Linked DNA regions of Homo sapiens: region 1 is linked to region 2. Evidence: promoter capture Hi-C in 16 types of primary human blood cells and fetal thymus (Javierre and others, 2016). All regions are on one chromosome and are shown on one strand. The core of a region is centred on a gene start or on the middle of the fragment in contact, and the rest is flanking DNA. Distances in the headings are between cores, read along the strand shown.

Region 1 (6,543 bases), core at 1,329-3,828, 69 kb before region 2:
CAGAGTTTTGTGGGGTTTTTGGCCTGTTTTGTTCACTGCTGTATCCCCATTCCTTAGAACAGTGTTAGGCACAAAATTGGTATTCAATTAATATAAAAAAATGACTGTTAACTAAAATTTTATTTGAAAATTTTCAATTTAGCAAAATACAGTAAATTTTTTTTAAGTTAGTTTATACAAATGCCTATGAAATCAAATTAGTGACCATATTTCTTGTCTGGGTAATCATCATTCTCTCTGTACTACCATTTACAAGTAGGCTGGGTAATCATCATTCTCTCTGTACTACCATTTACAAGTAGGTATGAAGTGTGAAGTGGGATGTTGATAGAGTCTGGATATTTGCCTTGCCCAAATCTTATGTTGAATTGTAATCCCCAATGTTGGAGGTGGGGTTTGTTGGAGCCGATTAAATCATGGGGGCGGATTTCTCATGAATGGTTTAGTACCGCCCCCTTGATGCTGTCCTCAGAATAGTGACTGAGTTTTCTTGAAATCTGGTTGTTTAAAAGTATGTGGCACCTCCCCAACCTTGCTCCTGCTTTTGCCATGTGACGTGCCTGCTCCCGCTTTGCCTTCAGCCATGAGTAAAAAGCTTCCTGAGGCCTCCCCAAAAGCCAAGCAGTGTTGGTGCCAGGATTGTACAGCTTGCAGAACCGTGAGCCAATTAAACCTCTTTTTACAATAAACTACCCAGTCTCGGGTATTTTCTTACAGCAATGCAAGAACAGCCTAATACAGATGTATTTCTTGATAAACTTGAGTAACTTCTTGTGAGAGTAAACCTACACAAATAACCCAACTTCTCTCTTTTGACTTTAAACAGATGATTAATAGAAAATTAGTTGACATAGGAGAAAGACATGCATTGTAGGAAAGTATACTTACTGGAAGGAGGTTTCTTCTACAAAAGAAAAAGTATATATCATTAATGCAAGGGTTATTATGGTATGATACAGATTCATATAAAAATGAGTTTGGGTTTAATTTATTTTTATTAATTTTAATCTTCACTTGCTGACGTTTATACCTTCTAAATTAAGAGTTGGCAAACTTTTTTGGTAAAGAGCCATACAGCAACCATTTTAGGCTTTGGGGCCAAGAGGATACTATATAGGTACTTAAGTAACAAGAGAGCAAACAAATTTCCAAACATTTTTATGGATAAAATAAAAATATAATAATAATAATAACAATAATAATAAAAGTCTTGAAAAACAGGCCTACTAGTTAGAGAAATGGAATGCTTTTGGGGAAGATAACATTTCTCTTAATTGGGGTTCAAAGTCAGCGGGCCCTATCATCAAATAGATTGTAAATGTTCATCTGTAAAGCCATTTTTGTTCATAGGCCATAGAAAAATAGGCGGGGAGGGCAGATTTGGTCCACAGATAGTAGTCTGCCAACCTCTGTCCTAAACATATATTCAAGAATATGCTTCTCTTGGATAGATTTTTCTGCTAGATGAAAAATCAGAGTAACATTCTTAGGTAACGAACTCCTAATATTCAAGTCAACTTTTAATTAATTCAATATTTTAGGAAAATTTTTTTACTAACTCCTCATTAAAAAAACTCAGACCAGTATTATTTTAGGCTATAGATAAAGATGACAAGAGTTTTGGAAGAGTTATCTTATTTGTCTGTACTTTCACTGATGACCAGCAGGGGGCCACAGCTGGATTCAATTCATAAAGTTACATTAAAGTGGGCTAAATTGAAGCACTGAACAAGTATTAATTGACAGAGCCGCTCTTTTTGTTTGTTTGTTTGGTCAGTGTCTTGCTCTGTTATCCAGCTTGGAGTGCAGTGGTGAGATTACAACTCACTGCAGCCTCGACCTTCTGCGCTCAAGCGATCCTCCTACTTTAGCCTCCTGAGTAGCTGGAACTAAAGGTGTGTGCAACGATGCCTGGCTTATTTTTTATTTTTTGTAAAGAAAGGGTCTCCCTATGTTTCCCAGGCTGGTCGTGAAGTCCTGGACTCAAGTGATCCTCCTGCCTCGGCCTCCCAAAGTGTTGGGAATGCAAGTGTGAGCCACCACACCCAGCCCAGTTATTCTTAATTATAGGGCATCTCTTTGAATCCATGTCCACGGAAACATTTTATGAGACATAATACCTAGTTGTAGGTATTATTAGGAACACATTTTATATTTAAGTTTATTTTTGGCATAAAATATATTTTTAAAGGCCAAGAGTGGTGGCTCACACCTGTAATCCTAGCATTTTGGGAGGTTGGGATGGGAAGATTCCTTGATCCCAGGAGTTCAATACCAGCCTGAACAACAGAGCAAGAACCTGTCTCCACAAAAAATAAAAGAAAATTAGCCAGGTGTGGTGGTATGTGCCTGTAGTCCCAGCTACTTGAGAAGGCTGAGGTGGGAGGACTGCTTGAGCCCGGAAAGTCAAGGCTGCAGTGAGCCTTGATCACACCACTGCACCAGGCATGGGTGACAGAGTGAGACCCTGTCTCAAAAAAAAAAAATTGTTTTAAAAATCTAAATTCCGAAATTAATGTTCGCTGTAAAACAATGGGTCTAGAACTTGTATATGCTATAAATTTATAATTCAATTAAGAATTTTATTTTACACACTATTGCCAGTGGCCCTGATAGAATGCTGCAGCTTCTGAGCTCTCCAATAATATTAAAGAGGGAGTGAAGAAATGCATTAAGAGAATAAAACATTTTTAAATCCCACCCATTTACATCAAACCTATTGCATTATCAAATGGAGGTGTGAAGTTACAAGAGGTCTAAATTTGAAGAATTCAAAACTGTGTACAGAAGTAGCTCTCATAAATACAATAGGTTTCTATTTTTGACTGAACAATTCTCTTTTTTTGTTGTTTTTTTGAGATGGAGTCTTGCTCTGTCACCCAGGCTGGAGTGGAGTGGCATGATCTTGGCTCACTGCAACCTCCACCTCCCAGGTTCAAGTGATCCTTCTGCTTCAGCCTCCTCAGTAGCTGGGACTACAGGTGCATGTCACCACTCCTGGCTAATTTTTGTATTTTTAGTAGAGACGGGGTTTCACCATGTTGGCCAGGCTGGTCTCGAACTCCTGACCTCAAGTAATCCTCCCGCCTCAGACTCCCAAAGTGGTAGGATGACAGGCATGAGCCACCACACCCAGCTGAACAATTCTCTTCTAAATACAGTTGTCCTAAATTTAACATTCAACATTTCACTGTTCTACACTGATGAAATATTTCACTTATTTATTTCAATGAAATTTCTTAAAGAATTTGAAATCAACTTATATCTTGAGATATACAATTCCTAACTTAAAAATATCTTGTCTGGGCGCGGTGGCTCACACCTGTTATCCCAGCACTTTGGGAGGCCAAGGTGGGTGGATCAGGAGGTCAGGAGATTGAGACCATCCCGGCTAACACGATGAAACCCCGTCTCTACTAAAAATACAAAAATTAGCCGGGCGTGGTGGCGGGAGCCTGTAGTCCCAGCTACTCGGGAGGCTGAGGCAGGAGAATGGTGTGAACCTGGGAGGTGGAGCTTGCAGTGAGCCGAAATTGCGCTACTGCACTCCAGCCTGGGCGACACAGTGAGACTCCGTCTCAAAAAAACAAACAAAAAAAAATCTTAAAAACATGCAAAGATACTATAAATATCCGTTCACATTGAATATCTCTGTCTCGCTGCACTGCACCACTCCAAGGATGCCTCTTGCATATTCTGTGGTGCTCCCTGGAATGTGCAACTAGGCAGTTCTGCCTTTTCTCCCTAGGTTTGCCAAGGTGTTTCATAAGCCACCTGCATGTCATCCTGAACATTTTCTATAGCAGAAAATAAATGAACAATATTCTCCAGAGTTTGTTAAAACTTGCTAGGAGAGGGCCGGGCACAATAGCTCACACCTGTAATCCCAGCACTTTGGAAGGCCAAGGCAGGCAGATCACTTGAGGCCAGGAGTTCGAGACCAGCCTGGCCAACATAGCGAAACCCCATCTGTACTAAAAATACAAAGATGAGCTGGGTGTGTTGGTGCACACTTGCAATCCCAGCTATTTGGGAGGCTGAGACATGAGAATCACTTGAACCTGGGAGGTGGAGGTTGTATTGAGTGGAGATTTTGCCACCACTGCACTCCAGCCTGGGCAACAGAGCAAGACTCTGTCTGAAAAACAAACAAACAAACAAAAAAACAACTTCCTAGGAGAAACAGTATCTCATAAATAAACTCCATAGCCATAGAAAGTTATCTGCCAAAGAAGGGTGAAATTCACTTACTTGAAAAGTAGCCTTTCCTCTGAGCATAGCATACACCAAGGCCACAAACGGAAATCACTAAGGCCACAACTACTACGGCTGCTATGATGCCACTTATGTTGAGATCATCTGGAATGTAAAATAAATTACGCATAAATATATGTGGATTACACGGACAGATGCAGTCATTAAATTGAAAAGGTTCAAAAAAAGATCCCCTTTGCAGCTATATCATAAAGCATACTTTAACGATTGTGAAGCCTGTTCAACTAACTCACTTCTAAGACATGGTTCAAAATTGATTAAAAATATTAACAGAACTTAAGCTTTGGAAAAATACTAAATTTTAAAAACTTCTCAGATTAAAAAATAAAATGTATTCTTTTGCATTCATTTGGAGATGTGTAATAATTCACAGGATTAAAAGACTGGAAGCAATCTTTGAAGTTCAATGAGTTCAAGTATTCTACTGCCACTCCCTACCCCACGTCTTACTTAAAATTCTCCTACATCATCAACTGTGTCAATTTCACAAATAAAGAAAAACTCAACGTCAAAGAAAACACATGGTGCCAGGCATGTTGACTCATGCCTGTAATCCCAGCTACTCAGGAGGCTGAGGTGGGAGGACTGCTTGAGGCTAGGAATTTGAGACCAGCCTAGGCAACATAGCAAGAATCCATCTCTAAAAAATAAAAAAATTAAAAAAATTATCCGGGTATGGTGGTGCATTCCTGGAGTCCCAGCTACTCAGGAGGCTGAGGTTGGAGGATCACTTGAGCCTAGGAGTTTCAGATTATAGTGAACTATGATTGCACTACTTCTCTCCAGTCTGGGTGACAGAGCAAGACTGTCTCTTAAAAAAAAGCACATGTCATTGTTATTCTGTAAAACTAAGTGTAAGAAATACGTTCCTTCTTGAATTATATGGGTGTAGATATACAATTATATGTATATGGGTGTATACACACATACACAGTCATATACATATATGCAACTAAACTGTCATCCCATTTATGAAAAATGAATTAAATTCTCTGAGGCTTTTCCTATGACTGTTAAGGCATCCGTCCTCTAATGTAATGCAACTGGATTTTTTGAACCCAAGTTTGGAAATAACTACTGTGAAGTTTTTTTCTTCTTCTCAGATTGATTCTGTTGCCTAATAATTACATTATTAACCTTCCAAGCTTAACATTTCTGCAAATTGAGAATTTTATTAAAAATACTCTCATTCAAGTCATTAATAACATGATGAACATGGATTTGTTTAGGAAACAACTATGTAACAGGCTAGCAGACACCTCCTGTCATACAACACAATTTATTAACATTCTCTGAGCATGGGATTCAACTGTGTGTGGATCCACCAAAATATTGTTTGGACCATATTTCTCCATCTTGTCCATGAGGATTTTATGAGCCACACTCTTCTGCCATTTAGATACTTCCCATGTATTTATTAAAGGAGCAATTCTTCAAAGAGTTCCCATTTTACAAAGCAAGTTTTAATTAGCCTATGATTAAATAACCTAGAGAAAATATTACATAGCATTTTCTCAAAAATAATTTAAATATTTTAAAGCAATGTACATTTTGGAAATGATCTTTTTAGAGATACTGTTTAAGTGAATCTGCTTATCATAAAAACTTCTGGTCTCGAAATTCTTTCCTAATGCCAAGTGTGTTATTAATTTTCTTAAATACCTCCAAAATATTAATTGATTTTTTTAAAAAAGAAAACTTGATAAGTCTTTTGAAAGGTTAAGTAATTTGACCAGAGTAGAAAACATTAATTATTGCTTGGTATAAACTCAGTTTGCTTGGGTATTGAGAGGTCAATAAGATTCAGCTTTTTATTTACTTGGATTAAAAAGAGCAGAGAGAGAAAAAAATCTACAGTAATCATAATCTTAGGCAAAGTCAAATCAGTAAGTGAAATTCCTGAGAACCAAAGTGTACCTTCTATTTACTTTGTAGTAGTCATTAAATCTGACATCTATGAAGCATTCAAAGTAAGGGCTATTATCTGACAAAAAAAAAAAACTGTCTTGTAGTTTGTCAATGAATTTGACATCTATGAAGGAAGGATTCACCCTAAAAGAAACTACTGACAAAAAATTGTCTTGTTCTGTAAGTGCTAAGTTGTAGTATGAATTTTATGTTATTTTTCTTCAGTGAAATGGGAGACAGAAGAGTAATAGATAAGGAGTAAGTTAACTTCTTACATCCTGTTCACCATTTTCTGTGATGTTGAGCAAGTCATACAGCCATATTATGCCTCAGTGAAGAGAAAATGTAACATTAAGTATG
Region 2 (6,168 bases), core at 1,748-4,247:
TACTCCGCCTTCAAGGAGATGGAGCATAACTCTCCTTCCTGAAGAAGTGTGGGTTGCATGTAGTGACTTCCTTCCAAAAAAATCTAGTATGGAAATGAAGAAAAAAGGGTAGGTAATCTGTGGAGAAAACTGGTATGCACTACATTAGGAGTATGATTACAGGTGACCTAGGTTCACATCAACAGCAATAAGTCATGTGTACGGTATGTTCCCTGGAGATAATGTGATGAAAATGTCACTTTACCTAGGCCCCTTACCACTTTCTGATCTTCCTCCAAAAAACCTATAACCCCAGTCTAGTTATGAGAAAAATATCAGAGAAACAGCAATTCGCAGTCATTCTACCAGATACTTGACCAGAACTCCTCAAACCCATTATAGTAAGAGAAAGCAAGGGAAGCCTAAGAAACTGTTACAACCAAGAAGAACCTAAGGAATCAGGACAACTAAATGTAATATGGTAGCCTGGATGGCATCCTGGAATAGAAAAGGCATTAGGTAAGAATGAAGGAAATTTGAATAAAGTGTACCATACTAATGTAAGATATTAACAATGTGGGAAACTGGGTGTGGAGTATATGAGAACTCTCTATACTAGCGTTGGAATTTTTATTTAAATCCAAACTGTTCTAAAATTGTTTTAAACATAAAAAAAAAAACACCCACATACAAAGAAAACACTCTTGCAATGCCAGATCTTTTAGTATCCCAGGAACAATATAGAAAAGTCCCCACAACACTTCCAAATACATCCCCTATAGGAATCAAGTTTAGCAGAGACAATGTGTTATATTTACCTAAAGCTTGAAGAGGTCACTCAGCCCCATTCATTTATGCTTTTGTTCGCCTCTTGGTTGTTTCTCCACTACAATTTCAGACTTGGGGTGTATTGTTTCTATGTTGGTGATTCAATAGGAATAGCACAGCAGAACGATTTTCTGTTTTTAATTAGTGACAATTCTACACTAAAAGGCACACTCTTTTCTATTTGAAATTTAGAATTTCAGCAGAATACATAACTTTCTCAGTTGTTCTGTTAACGATTTCTCCAGCCTACCTCTCTGTTGCCTTTTAGCATGAGTGCATTTTTTTTCTTCTGTGTGTTCCATATGATACCAATTGATATTTCAGAATTGCACAAGGGTTTCATTGTGAAACTTTGGCTTTCTGGTTTGACTTTATATAATATTGGTCAGTACATGTCCCTTGCCTGAGACAATGTGCACCTTCCTCCTCCACAAAGGGACGTGGCTCACATCACTTGAGCTGTGCGATGATCACTTGGGCAGCGAGGGCGTGAGAAAATATCATTGTATTGTGGTATTAGACACTCGTCCCGCAGGTTAAGTATTATAAGTGTTACTTTACCAGAACGTGAATAGCAACAATAACTCATTTTACAAAAGAAAGAAAGAGAGACAGAAAGAAAGAGAGAGAGAAAGAAAGAAGAAAGAGAAAGGAAGGGAGGAAGGAAGGAAGGGAAAAAAGCAAAACAAAAAAGGTGAGAGAAAAAAGAAAAAGCAAAAGTAGAACTGCATTGCTTAGTCTATTGTAATTTCCTCCATTTTCCTAAAAAGTTAACGCGAAGAAAACAAAATAACGGCAACGTTCCCAGGATTTCAAATCTCATGAGTCCAGAATCCGTGAAAATCCTGTTTAAAATCATCCGGTGAAATTGGCTTTGGGACGTCTCCCCAGCTACTGGATCATGTGGCTTCTGAATCTTTCTAACAATCGTCCCGTTGGATGTCCCCTGAGGACAGAGCAGCTGGCTAGAGTCCCCAGACCAGACTTCTCTAAGTGAATGTAGATGTGCAGGTGGAGAGGATAAAAGTAATTCTGGCTCAGCAGCCACGAATTCCCTCCACCTCCGCCCCACAAGTGCGCTGCATATCGCCGGCTCAGCTGGGACGCTACAGAGCCCAGACCACGCGGACGCTGCCCCCTCCCCGGGGACTCAAAGTGTGGCCGGCGCCCGCCTCCCAGTGATGCCATCTTTCTTGGGGTCTTAGCATCTTACCAGTGGGTAGTGAGTTTTGCATTCGAATCACGTCCCTCTGTCTGAAAACTTACCCCAACTTTGCAAACAGATGAGAACCTGCTAGTGGGAACCCTTAATTTTCTGTATCTAGAACTGACAAAATCAGACGCAATTCACAAGAAACCCACGACCTCGCGCTCCCTTGCTCCCAGCGTCCGCTCGCGGGCACCCTGGGTTTCCCGCTCGCCTGGGCGCAAGGTCAGACGCCCCGCGGCGACCTCGGCCCAGAGCCGCCCAGACACTGTCAGCCAGCGCCCCGTGGGGGGCTGGAGGGTGGGGGCAGGCTGGTCCAGGCAGGAAGGGTAGAGGAACCCGAGCAACTTACAGCCCAGGGCGACCACCAGGTAGCGCAGCAGCAGCAGGAGGAGGCGGTGGCGGCTCCTCCTCGCCATCTTCCCGGGGCGGCAGCCGGCTGCTCTGAGGAGGTCGAGGGTCCCGGCGGCAGGAGCGCAGGAGGCCGGGGGCCCTTGAACTTCTGGGGCGGGAAAGGAGCAGAGAGTCGGGAGGGGAGGAAGAGGAGGGACGGCTCTAGATGGGATGTCAGTTTCCCCCTCCCCGGGGCGCCTTCTCAGCTGGCTGCCAAGAGGCGGGTCCTCCAGCCCAGGGATGGGGGTCTGTTCTGTTTTGGGGGTGTGGGGGTAGGGGCTAGAGGGCGTGAAAACCAGACGAGGCGTCCGCCGGGTCCTAGCGAGGGGGCAGCAGGAGGAGAGCAGCGCCCGGGAAAGCCCCGGCGGGTCGTCCCTCCGCCCCCACGCCTCCGGGATTGATCGGCTTTGTGTCTGGTCCGCGCGGGGCTGCCAGCTGTCCCCAGGGCGAGGAGCTGGGGGCGGGAGGCGCGGGCAGGCTGGGGGTGGGGGGATTGGGTGTCTCGGGGACGGGGATGTATGCGGGTAGGGAAACGCCTCCTGTTTTGCCCCAACTCCTTTCTTCCCCTCGTTGGCTCAAAACTTCTTTCTGGCTTTTCAGCCTAGGGGTGGAGATATTTGGAAAATTCTGCCCAACGGGCGAAGCTGAGGGGGTGGCGCTCTGAGGAGATGGGGTTCGCGGGCTCCGCCTCGAACTCGAGAAAAAAAAAAGCAATCAAGACTCGTGCTGGAAGTCAGGTCTCAGATTTTAGTACAGCCTTGGTCCCTTCTCAGTTTAAGCTTTTTGCTCCTTGGAGATTTGAGGTGCATTTGTCTCGCGTTCTTGTTCTTTGCTTTTTTTTCAGTGTCAGAGTTGGAAGTTCATCTAATGGTGTGAAATATTTATCATGTTTCTTTCAAGTTACATAACTGCTGCTTGTGGAGTTTTCCACGTGTTAAAACTCTACAGCTGCCCTTTGTCAGGTTTATTTTTGGTCTACTGTGCTTTTAAAAGGGAAACCCATTATGAATGCTCTGTTGCGTGCTTTAAAATTGCACCACACTTACATTGGACGCACGTACACTGGCAATTTTTATATTTGTTCCTAGGGACCAAAAATGTATGGTGTATTCAAGAGTATTGGCAGGTCTGGAAAAAGGCCATTCCCAGGAGAAGAAATTAGTATACATCAGTTTTTTTCTTTTGTTTTTTTGTTTGTTTTTGTTTTTGTTTTTTTTTAAAGGTTGAATAATGGATGAAGTTCTGTACAGCAGATAGTTGATTTAGTGGTGTATTTAAAAAGAATTCAGCTAGCTCAGTGGACAAAGGCGACCAGAGTTTAGCTGTGCAGAACTGTGAGGAATGAGGCATCCTTGCTGTTGCCGTGGTGACAGTGATGAAAACTTAGTACCCAGGGAGGGGGTGGGAGGAGAGGACCCAGGGGACCCAGAAAGGAAAGTCAAAATGGCAAAATGTTAAAACTCGTACTCCAGTCAACCGAGGAGAAGGGGCACAGATTTAACAACAGCTTATGCCAGTTTTTCTGGGCAGTAATGAGAAGGATTTGATGCTTAAAAAGAAAAGTTGTTGGCATCTTCTTTTTTCTAATTCTTGCTACAGCTATATGTCTTTTACTCCTCCCTAAAAATATACACAAAAATGTCATACTTAAAAAAATTCTATGCAATCCTATGTGAGTAACTGACTAAGTTATTTATTTGCCACCCAGCCAAGGCATTTGACAAATGGCAACAATGTGCTGGATGCTGAAGGACAACCATGAACAAGATAGAGGCTTTCTTGCTAACAAGCTCACAGTCTTGAGGGGAGACAGAGTCTTATCAGGAAAGATGCCTGATACCACATGGTAAATGTTACAGGAGGACAGAAAATAATAACAGCTATTTTTATTGCATGCTTTCTCAGTGATGGAGTCTGAATAACGCAATATCTAATCCCCCAACAACTCCATAAAAGAGGAAATGTTATCATTCCCACTTTGCAGATGAGAAAACTGGGCGGAGAGACACTAAATGGCTTGTCCAAGGTCCATGATAAGGGGCTGTTCCTTTTGTTGGGAGTGGGGCCAGGGCTTTCTTTATTAAACCTTGAAAAATGGGTCAAATTCTGAAGGGAAGGACATAAAGGAGAGGCATTCTACATAGAGGAAACAGCAGGATCCAGAGCTAGGAGATTGAAAAATTATGGTTTATTTAGAAAAAGCAAGGTTCTACAGTACTAAAGTGTATGTGGGATCGGGATAGTGAGGTAGGTGGTGGTGGTGGTAGAAACTGAAGGGGAGGTTAGAGTACGAAGAGCATTCACGCTACTGTCTAGACCTCATCCTACAGCTAATGAGCTTTTTGAAAGCAATGAGATAAGAAAAGACTCATATTTTAGAACTGTGGTGTCCAATATGGTAGCCTATAGATCTAAGTGGCTATATACATTTTTTTTGTTTTGTTTTTAATTTGAGACAGAGTCTCACTTTGTCACACAGGCTGGAGTACAGTGGTGCAATCTCAGCTCACTGCAACCTCCGCCTCCCAGGTTCAAGTGATTCTCCTGCCTCAGCCTCCTCAGTCCAGTAGATGGGACTACAGGCATGTGCCACCATGCAGGCTAATTTTTGTATTTTTTGTAGAGATGGGGTTTCGCCATGTTTGCCAGGCTGGTCTCGAACTTCTGACCTCAGATGATCCACACGCCTTGGCCTCCCAAAGTGCTGGAATTACAGGTGTGAGCCACCATGCCTGGCTGGCTATATAAATTTGAATTCAATTATATGTAAAATGCAGTTCTCCACTGACACTGATCACATATGAATTTCTCAATAGTCACATGAGGGTAGGGGCTACCATATTGGAAAATGTATTTCCATCATTGCAGGAAGTTCTACAAGAGAGTGCTGCTCTAGAATGATGACTCATATTGAAATGTGCAGGATGGATTACAGAAAAGAGAATCAGGGTGTTAGTCAAGTCTAAACTATTACAATATCCTGAGAAAGAGACCAAGTTGTGAAGTAAATGGTCACCGTGTGATAAATGAAAAACCGGGTGGATTCAGATGATATTTCACAAACATGGTCAACAGGATTATGTTATCAGCTAGATGTAGGGGTGAGAAAGGAGAGAACATGTAGGTATCAGATTTCTAGCATAGGTGGCTGTATGTGGAGGTTATAAATAGTGTCATTAAAGGAATAAGAAACATAGAGGGCATACATAATTCCTGCAGGTTTGGGATGAGTTGAGAGAGAGAAATATAGCTGGGGTGACCAGTAGACTGTTAGAATGAGTGCTCTAGAGAACAGGAAACCCTCAGGATTGACTAAAGAAATAAATATAAATATTAGCAGCATCTTCTAGAACAGTGATCACTGGACTATCTTCTCCCCAGAATCCTTTGGAGCTCCTTCATTATGATTCTTTCCTTAAAATTATGTTAAAATTCTGAGTTTCAGAAGTTTTAATCTCAGCAGCCCCAGGAAGCTGTATTATTAACAAGTACCTTGATTAATTCTGATGCAACGAATCTATGGATTATTGTTTGAGGAACTTTCTAGAAGGCAGGAGCAGTGAATGAGATCAATCAGACAAAGAAGTGAATGTTTATGGATAAATCTAAGGAAATAACTGCAGTAAGAGGTAGGAAGAGAAAGAACCCAGAGAAAGAACACAAGAAAGAGCAGTCAAAAAGTACAAAAGGAACTGGGAGAGAATCAGGAGCTAAAGGTGGAGGTGTTTGTACAGTCCAAGGCTAAAAAGAGGGTTGAGAAT

What was found. Contacts are between HindIII fragments. The CHiCAGO score rates a contact against its expected background, and 5 or more counts as called.
Region 1: a fragment that was not itself captured here is called in contact with the fragment with the promoter of JAM2 in region 2 in 1 of 17 cell types (megakaryocytes); the score reaches 5.9 in megakaryocytes.

What each region holds. Positions count from the first base shown.
Region 1 is chr21:25,703,795-25,710,337 of GRCh38, reverse strand. JAM2 (junctional adhesion molecule 2) reads right to left here. Exons shown (of 10, transcript NM_021219.4): 7 at 4,252-4,359; 8 at 889-904. All of the region lies in intron 1 of LOC124905002 (a long non-coding RNA gene), which reads left to right. Among named protein-coding and RNA genes, the nearest start is that of ATP5PF, 28 kb to the left of the region's middle. The HindIII fragment of the contact is 3,961 bases long and covers 598-4,558 here.
Region 2 is chr21:25,636,087-25,642,254 of GRCh38, reverse strand. JAM2 (junctional adhesion molecule 2) reads right to left here and starts at 2,997. Exons shown (of 10, transcript NM_021219.4): 1 at 2,367-2,997. The coding sequence starts at 2,433. RefSeq lists enhancers at 2,015-2,084, 1,987-2,487, 3,225-3,364 and a silencer at 2,815-3,004. The HindIII fragment of the contact is 2,383 bases long and covers 806-3,188 here.